Regions from separate parts of the Homo sapiens genome. Here regions 1 and 2 are each linked to region 3. Evidence: promoter capture Hi-C in 16 types of primary human blood cells and fetal thymus (Javierre and others, 2016). All regions are on one chromosome and are shown on one strand. The core of a region is centred on a gene start or on the middle of the fragment in contact, and the rest is flanking DNA. Distances in the headings are between cores, read along the strand shown. Region 1 overlaps ADAR (adenosine deaminase RNA specific). Region 2 overlaps ADAR (adenosine deaminase RNA specific). Region 3 holds the start of ADAM15 (ADAM metallopeptidase domain 15).

Evidence for each region. Contacts are between HindIII fragments. The CHiCAGO score rates a contact against its expected background, and 5 or more counts as called.
Region 1: a contact is called between a fragment that was not itself captured here and the fragment with the promoter of ADAM15 in region 3, in 3 of 17 cell types (naive B cells, erythroblasts and total B cells). The highest score is 7.5, in naive B cells.
Region 2: a contact is called between a fragment that was not itself captured here and the fragment with the promoter of ADAM15 in region 3, in 1 of 17 cell types (naive B cells). The highest score is 5.6, in naive B cells.

Annotation. Positions count from the first base shown.
Region 1 is chr1:154,603,034-154,606,064 of GRCh38, forward strand. The region is part of intron 1 of ADAR (adenosine deaminase RNA specific); the gene reads right to left. Among named protein-coding and RNA genes, the nearest start is that of ADAR, 3.6 kb to the right of the region's middle. The HindIII fragment of the contact is 265 bases long and covers 1,158-1,422 here.
Region 2 is chr1:154,586,573-154,589,272 of GRCh38, forward strand. ADAR (adenosine deaminase RNA specific) reads right to left here. Exons shown (of 15, transcript NM_001111.5): 10 at 1,979-2,101; 11 at 1,553-1,686. Among named protein-coding and RNA genes, the nearest start is that of CHRNB2, 20 kb to the left of the region's middle. RefSeq lists an enhancer at 2,128-2,700. The HindIII fragment of the contact is 3,100 bases long and covers 1-2,700 here.
Region 3 is chr1:155,049,756-155,052,930 of GRCh38, forward strand. ADAM15 (ADAM metallopeptidase domain 15) reads left to right here and starts at 1,561. Exons shown (of 23, transcript NM_207197.3): 1 at 1,561-1,710; 2 at 2,916-3,022. The coding sequence starts at 1,632. DCST1 (DC-STAMP domain containing 1) reads left to right here. Exons shown (of 17, transcript NM_152494.4): 17 at 862-1,175. The coding sequence ends at 1,113. The region is part of intron 1 of DCST1-AS1 (DCST1 antisense RNA 1); the gene reads right to left. ADAM15-EFNA4 (ADAM15-EFNA4 readthrough) reads left to right here and starts at 1,561. Exons shown (of 26, transcript NR_176418.1): 1 at 1,561-1,710; 2 at 2,916-3,022. RefSeq lists an enhancer at 736-795 and a silencer at 1,266-1,725. The HindIII fragment of the contact is 11,546 bases long and covers 1-3,096 here.

The sequences.
Region 1 (3,031 bases), core at 40-2,539, 450 kb before region 3:
GAAATAACCAGAACAATCACATGAAATAACAATAACCAAGGGAGATGGGACTAGGGAAGGGACGAGATGACCTCTCCTTAAGTCAGGCTCACCAGTGCACCCCTTGCCCACCTGTCTCTAAGATCTATCGTTTAGATGACTATGACAAAAGAAGAAATGTGATTGGATGAAACTGAACCCCAGTCCTCCAAGGCTGTAACAGCGCAGTAACGAAAACAATCTCCAGGTGGGAAAAGGCCACGGGACCTCAGAGTCATCTCTGTGGCTCTTCACTGCCATCCCAGGAGGATCAGAATTTGGTCTTCAGGGAGCTGGAGGGTTTCCTGATAAAAATGGCACACTGTCCTCACTCTTCAGTGTGGTACCCAGGCTCAGAAGGGATGCCAGAGACTTTTGCCCAAACCACCCAGGCTCTCCTGGATGTGTGGAGCTGGCAGCATCTGCTCCTCACCACCTCAGACCAGTCCTACCTTCCCTAGCTACTTCCCCATAGCTGCTTCCACTGCACGTTCTTCTGAACCCTGACGGACAGGGCACAAGCAACCCCATGTTCTCATATGCACATTTACCAGAACACCAAGCACCTGTGACCCCTTTCCCCACCCACCCACCTGCAAACCAGTACTGTCTTCTCCCCAGGGCTGTTCACTGGAGGGTGATGGAGCCAGGAAGTACTTATAAGCCTGGGGGTGTCAGTAAACACCTTGCTTCCTTTCCCTGGGGCTTGTAGACTGGGAGGAGGGATTCTGACAACATTTACTCACACTCACCGCCCCCTCCTCAGACTCTCCTGGAGGCTGCACAGGTAGAGGTGGGACCCTTTCTTCCATAACTCTAGCCTTCTACTCTTCCACATCCTGACACACTTAGGGGATTTCAGCATTCTTGTCAATCACTCTCATGGTGTCCTGGCTACAAGGATCCTTAACCCAGTGATCTCCATCCCTACCTTTCTGCCACACAATTGGCTTGTCTAGCTACTCCTTCAATCTCACTATGACTCTAACCTAGGCCATCACACCAAGACCTCAAATCCTGCAACTCTTTTCCAGTGGCTGATAAACTTTTTCTATAAAGGGCCAGACAGCTCTGCCACTGTAGCACAAAAACAGCCTCACACAATATGCAAAACTTTATTTACAATTCATTTACCATGAAGCTTTATTTATAAAAACAGGTAGTTTGTACCTGTGGGCCATAGTTTCTTGACTCCTGCTCTTTTCTGATGGTGACTTCCCTGTGTTTCTACAACTTCACTCCTTACTCTGGTGGAACCTGCTCCTCGCATGACCCCGGTGAAGCTGCCAGTAAGCCACCCTGATTCTTCCCCACTCTGACTTCACACACCTCCTCACCCCACCTGGATCTCATGGTCAGTTCCCTTCTCCACCCAAGGCCCACTGTCCCCCTTTTCTTCTCCAAAGCTTCCCAGTGGTACTGGAGAAGGACCTTGACTTGTGCTAACAGGGTCCATAAAAATTCCTTCTCTTGAACCTCATTTGGGTCTTCGCTGTGTGGTGGTCAATTGTGTTTAACAAACATGCCTTAGTTCACTGTGGATTGAGTACTCTTCTTTTAAAAAATTCTCCTCCCAGGGTTTGGTGACACAGCAAAGGTCTTTCACCTCTTTTTTCTTCTTTGTCCCTTTTTCCCACCCCTTATAATTTTTTAATAGCTACTGTATTAACGGATCCACCCTTTATATAATCAGTCTCCAAGGTTTTAAGGACCTCTTCTTCCTTTATAATTTATTTCCTAGGTTGCTTTAATCACTGCCCCAACCTAAACTAGCCCTCTGAAGCAAGAGCACTCAAATCTACTATGTCCAGCCACTACCTTGTGTGGGAGCTTAAGATCTGAATTTCCAACTATGTCGACAGTCTGTCCACTTAAATATCCTGCCATAACTCAAACAGCACATATTCTGAACCAAATTAATAGTTCCCTCAAACTCAGCTCCTTCTCCTGTAGTTCTTATTGCTAATGGCATCACTCTCCTCCTAGCCTATTAAGGCTAGAAACCTGCGTCATCTTTGCTGCCCGCCTCCTGGCCTCATCTCCTGGATCTCATCAGGTAGTTGCCAAGTCCCACCTTGTCTGCCACCTCTGTACTGTGTCTTAAATGTGTTTTCTTCCAGTTCCAGCCCCTCATTACCTCTTACTGGGCCATTGCAAAGGCCTATAATCTTTCTATCCCTCTACATGCCAATCCAGGTGGCACATCTCCCTCCACAGCCACCTATCACAACTCTGACCCTTTCCTTATAGAGCTCCTTAAATGCCACTTGCTTCAGGAGACTCCTGACTCCCACCTTCTTCAGCCCTTGGGGTTTCCTCTCCTTGAGCTTCTCCTACTCAGCACCTGTTAAACCATTTACTTTCCCTCGTATCAGAGCTACTGGATTTTTTTTTTTTTTATGGCACACACACATTGCAGTGTCTGAAAGGTAATTAACATTAGGTGTCCTATAAGTTATACTCAACTCTCCACTCTCAATATTCCCAACACAGTACTGATGAGGGGCTTCAGTTGATTCCATGGTGAGCTCTTGGGGGTCAAGGACTATGCTTCAATCATCTCAACCTCTCTAGCACTTGGCACAAAGCTGATTCTCAACAAACATTTGTTGAATTAATGACTGCATGAACAAGACGCCACTATGCAAGCAATCATTTCTTTCTTGTTCCTCTTGCTGCACCCTCACGCCCACCATATTGCTAGGGACAGAGGCAAATGTGTGTACAGAGTGAGTGCTGGCTCCCAGAGCTGAATTATGGGACTTAGGGGTTCTCCTATTAGCTCTTTGAGTGACCTTGGGAAAAAAAAATTGTGTTTCAAAGTGGCTAGAGTCAGTTAAAAGCTAAATGTTTTTTAAACTGCTACTCTTGGCCCAAATCTGGAAAATATTTTAATGTCTGTCTATAGAAGAATTAAATTATGAAACATTCATTCTATGGAATAGTACTCACACGGTTATTTTTTTTCTTGTGAGACGGAGTCTCGCTCTGTTGCCAAGCTGGAGTGCAGTGG
Region 2 (2,700 bases), core at 169-2,668, 460 kb before region 3:
CTATGGTGGTGAGGAGATTGAAAGGGAAGAGAATAGACACTAAACCAGTAGCCAGTACATACGGAAGAATTCCAGATGCTGACAGTGCTCTGAAGGCTCTGAGGCAGCTATGACGGAGGACCACAGGGGACACCTCCTGGGACAGCAGCAGCAGGGGAGCCCAGACATGGAGGAGGACAGCTGGAGTAAGTGTTTCAGGCACACAGGACAAAAGCAAAGGCCCCAAGGCAGCCAGCGGATTGGCTGTTCAGGCGCCTGACAGAGAGCCAGTGTGGACAGAGCATATGCGAGGGATGGGGAAAGTGGCATGAGAGGAGGCCGGGTGATCACAGCAGGTTTTGCTTGTATATGCAGTGCAGTGGGAAACCACTATCGGGTTTAAAAAAAAACAAAAAAAAATGCTTTACTGAGATATAGTTCATATGCCATACAGTTCACCCATTTAAAGCATACAATTCAGTCATTTTTAGTATATTCACAGAGTTCTGCAACTGTCACCACAGTCAATTTTAGAACATTTCATCGCTCCAAAAAGAAACCTTCTACCCATTGGCGCAGTCACTCCTCATCTCTCCAACTCTCCCACTCCTGGCCCTGGCAACCACTCATCTACTTTCTGTCTCTATGGATTTGTCTATTCTGGACATTTCATATAAATGGAATCATACAATATGTGATCTTTTGTGACTGGCTTTTTTCATTTGGCATCAAGTTTTCAAGTGCATCCATATTGTAAGCATGTATCAGCACTTCACTTCTTTTTATGGCCAAAATAATATTCAATTTATGGATATATTTGATGTTTTATTTATGAATCCATCAGCTGATGGACGTCTGGGTTGTTTCCACTTTTTTGGCTCTTGTGAGTAATGCTGCCATGAACATTCACATATTAGTTTCCGTGTGGACACAGATCTCCATCTCTCTGCAGCATATACCTAGGAGTGGAGCACCGGCTCCATGGTAACTGTGTCTATACTTTAGGGTATTTAGCAAGGTTTCAGGACCACCATGATGACTGCTGACGTGGCCTGAACGCAATGGAGTGGATGCGAAGAGACAGTAAGGAGACAGGAGAGGATAGGAGAGAAGGAGCCAGTGGACAAGGCAGAGTCAACTGCCAGCTAGACAGGAGGGGACCCCAGCATTTGGCATCCTCATCTGTCAACTCCTCAGGGCTTGGTTGTGCCGCACTCTTCATTTCCTCCCCGCTTTCTTGAGGTAATCCTATGCATTCTCATGGCCATGAAGACCCTATAGGGGGATGACTCCCATATTTCTATTTCCAGCCAAGCTCCCTCCTCTGAGCTCCACATGGGAACCCCCACCTCCTATTTGACTTGGGGATCTCCCAGATCTCCCAAACTAACACATTCAAAATAGAACCCTGATCTTACCACACAGCTCCCTGACCCAGGTCTTCCCTTTCCTGTAAACAGCACCTCTGTGCCCAGTGACTAATGGTAAAATCCTAGCAGCCTTGTAGAGACTTGGGGTCCCTGGACCTTGCAGAGCCTTTTGAGGAAAGGAGGCGGGGGCATGTATCACTCACCGTTCTCCACCTTGGTGCGGAGCTTTCCTTGTTTGGGATTCTCGAAGACAGGGTAGTGGCGGGATTCTGTGCTTTCCATAGCACGGTCGCTGCAGGACTTGTCAAAGAGGGCGCCATCTCCACACGGAGCAGTGCTGAAAAACAGGGGTGGCTGTTAAAACTCACCTGTGGGAAATCTGCAATTTCGTGGGGCTCCAAAACAGTCAGATGTGACAGAAGCAAGGGATGTTTTCTAAGGCCTACCATGGGAGACTGGAGGTGGACAGCAGTACATGTGAGTCATCTACACCTGAATATGGACCTCAAACCCACAGTGGAGTGTGGCTTATTGTATCAGGTTCGATTTACAGGCCAGGAGAGCATTTGGATACCCAATTCTAACAGCCTGGCAGGGCCCACCCTGGCAGCAACAGGAACTGTACAGACCTGATATACAGATGGAATGACACAGTCTTTTTTATTTGGAGCTTTTCTCCTCCCTTAGCAGGTTCAAATATACTATCCTTCGCAGTCTGGGAGTTGTATTTCATTAACTCACTGTAGAGAAACCTACAAAAAGAAAGTCTGGTTAGGAAGGCAGGTTCAATTCTGGGAAAAGCAGTTGTTTCTATAATCTGACCTCCAAATGAGAAAGTAAGGAAAAGTCTCAATGTTGCAGACGTTTCACAGTTTATCAGGTGGAAATTCTCCAGGGGAGACCTCAGCATTTCATAAAGCATAGTTAGCCTTTTGGGTCTCCTTCATTTCTGCTGAGGGCTCCTCGCTATGGCGGCTACAGGGATTCTAGAGCAGAGCAAACTGATTCAAGGACTACAGGAAGCTGTTGCTCCTTTCTAAGTCTCTCCCTTCATAAATTAAAGAAAAGGTGAGCTAGAGGAGAAAGCTGGCAGGGGCATCAAGGTTGTGTAGGTCCTCAAACGGAAATGGAAAGCTGCCTCATCCTCAAGGCCCTGAGGACTAAAAGGTCATTTTGTGTTTTTAGAAAAGAACATGAAGCAGCAGAGTTAGCAGAAAAAAGGACAGCATTTAAAAACAGGCCGAGCAGTGGGAGGCAGCTCAGCTCACAGAGGGGATGGATTCCATCAGACAGGTTCAAATGGACGGGTGAAAAGCAAAGGCTGCCACTGCCACATCATGACCCGTCTGTC
Region 3 (3,175 bases), core at 311-2,810:
GGGGCCAAATGAATGTGTTGTGAAAAAATGAAAAACAAAAAACAAAAAAGAACATGCTGGGATTCCTTGACAGGGTCGTGAAGCAAACTGAATGTGAATGCACAGATGGAAATGTGCCAGACAGTCATTCCAAGCAGAATGTGCAAAGACTCAGTCCACAGGGAATGCGAAGTGCCAGGGCTAGTCTCAGGAGAAACTGGCTCAGAAGAGACAGCTCTCAGGGAGGGCTAAAGTAGGAAAGAGGCTAGAAAGGGACCAGGTGAGGGAAGGCTCTGAAGGCCAAGCCCAAGAGTTCTGCCTGTCTGGCAGGCAGCAGGGCCTCTGGAGTTTCTTGGGCAAAGAGTGGCTGCTTCCTGGGTAAGGTGGCCTGTGGAAAATCCCTGACAACTGTGTAGAGACATGTCGTGAGGGATGGCAGGGAGCATAGTGAACTAGGTTTGTGGTTTGGAATCAGGGCCCCTGGGGTCCAGCCAAGTTGGATTGTTTACTATCTGTGTGACTTTGAGAGTCACTTCACCTTTCTCAACTGTAAAGTGGGGATAGCAACAGTGATAGTCGATCTGGCCTGCTCACTTCTCAGCCTCACTGTGAGAACCAAATAAGATGATTTACAGGAAAGTGCAAATGAGAGTTGTGGCTGATATCCGCTTGGAGAGAGCCTGGAGGGTGCATCCTCCCATTCTCCATCACAGAGTTGGGGAGGGAGGCACCCTCGCCCTCCAGGGGTTTCCTTTGTCCAACCCAGCCTCCTCCAACACGCGGGAATTGTCAGGCCTGGCGACTTCAGACAGGAAACGCTGTCCAGTTCCCCTTCTTTCCCGCCTCGCTCCCGGGCTGGCGCTAACGCCCACCTCCCAACAGCGCCACCCGCTGGCGGATATCCTGCACCGCGGCTGCCCGCTCCTGCGCCGCTGGCTGTGCCGGCGCTGCGTGGTGTGCCAGGCACCCGAGACGCCCGAGTCCTACGTGTGCCGGACGCTGGACTGCGAGGCCGTGTACTGCTGGTCGTGCTGGGACGACATGCGGCAGCGGTGCCCGGTCTGCACGCCCCGCGAAGAGCTCTCTTCCTCCGCCTTTAGTGACAGCAACGACGACACTGCCTACGCGGGGTGAAGAGGCGTCCTGCTCGCTCTTCCGCACCGTCCTTCCCGGTTAATAAAATGCCCTGTACGCTTCACGTGGGTCGGGGACTGGGGTGAGCCGCGCACTGCCTCGCCTGCAGTCGGGAAAGCCTGCCCGCCCGACCTCTCCGAGCCAGGCCGCGCACAGGAGGCAGGGAGGCCGCGAAGCTACTAGGGAGGGGTCCGGACCTGGCGCCGGGTGAAGGCGCGCCGCCCAAGCCGGTCGGACCGGGCACCGGCTCCCACTCCGCACAGTTGCGGGGAAGCGGTAGCGCTGAGCAGCGCGGGCGTAGTGGGCGGTGTCCCCGCTCCCGAGGCACCCGGCGCGCAGCGGGGCGGGCTTTGCCGGGGGCGGAGCTTGGCTTGGGGCCGGGTGGGAGGGGGCGGGCCGGGGCGGGGCCTGGTGGCCGCGCGGCGCTGCTGGGTTCTCCGAGGCGACCTGGCCGCCGGCCGCTCCTCCGCGCGCTGTTCCGCACTTGCTGCCCTCGCCCGGCCCGGAGCGCCGCTGCCATGCGGCTGGCGCTGCTCTGGGCCCTGGGGCTCCTGGGCGCGGGCAGCCCTCTGCCTTCCTGGCCGCTCCCAAATATAGGTGAGTCCTCCGCCTGGAGTGGGTCGGGGGGCGGACTGGGAGGGAGGTGCAGGAAAGTCGGAAGGCATTAGGGTAATGGGGCCGGACGGAGACCCTGGGAGAGCCCAGCCAGAGCGCGGCCCGCCCTGGTCCGCTGTCCTGGGCCTAGGGCCCGGTGACTTGGCGATGGGGTGAAAAGAGAAGGAGGGGGGATGCCGGCGCCCCCTGCCTCCTGCCTGGTCATCCTCTGCGCGGTCCCTGCGGACACTTTCAGGCTCAGGTACCAGGTACCGAGGGGCCTGTCCAGCGCCACTTCAAGATCGTGATGAGAGGGTCGCTGCTCCCCAGGACTGGCATCTTCGCTGCTCTGGGGCCTAGCTAACCGTTCGACCCGGTGCCAGGGCGCTGAGCGGGCATGGCTTGTAGGGTTTAGTGAAGAGGATTCTCTCTAGCCTCTATTCCAGGCCTGGGGCCGCCAGGCACTCCTCACCCTGGTGCTGTTGCCACCAGTGCCTGGCCGAGCGGGAGGGGCCCGAGATGAGCCAGGAGAAGGGAGAATTGGCCAGGAAAGAGGCTGGGACACCAACTCCTCCTTGGAACTTTCACTTCCCGCTGCTGTCTTGGGCCGGGACCGAGAGGGCAGGCGCGGGTGGAGTGTCCGGAGGAGAGAGGGCCATTGTGTGTTGGGGGGGTGGGGGGTGCTCGAGGAGGAAGCAGAGGCTGTAGGCAGCGGGTGTGCCTGACTGGGCATGAGGGTGTTTAGGGAGGTGGGGGTGTTTGCACTGCTCACCCAGAAATGGGCGTTCCTGGCATCTCCGATGTGAGCGAAGGGGAGGGTGAGCGGGCACCCGGCCACAAGGCTTAGCTCAGTCTCGAGAGGGGGCGTTCCTGAAGTGGGGGGAGAGTGATTGGGAGGGAGTGGGAACCGGGGAGGGTCCTGTGAGAACCTGGGATTGGCCGGAAGGGGACAAGGAGGGCCACAGGCTGCGCAAGCCGAAAGTCTTTCTTGGGGACTTGTGAATGGGTTGGTGGGTGGAAAGCCATAAATTAGAGAGACACCCTCTCCTTCCAGTATTCTTCTTTAAGTCTCAGCATGCAATGTGGAAGCCCCTCAGGTACCTAAGGGTCTTGATGGGCTGGGAGCTGGTGGATCTGAGGGCACCTGTCACCCCCAGCCCTGCTGTCGATTCCCTCAGTACTGTCTTGGGGTGTCCTGGGACCTGCAGGTGGCACTGAGGAGCAGCAGGCAGAGTCAGAGAAGGCCCCGAGGGAGCCCTTGGAGCCCCAGGTCCTTCAGGACGATCTCCCAATTAGCCTCAAAAAGGTGCTTCAGGTGAGCTCTCACTCCCCTCTAATAAATAAACGAATCCACACACGCCCCGGTATAGCCAGGTGTCTCAAAGCCAAAGCTTGGCTGAGGAGCTGGTGGGTAGAGCTCACTGTAGTGGGTCTATCCCAGGCCCAGCTGCCTCTCCCACCACACCCC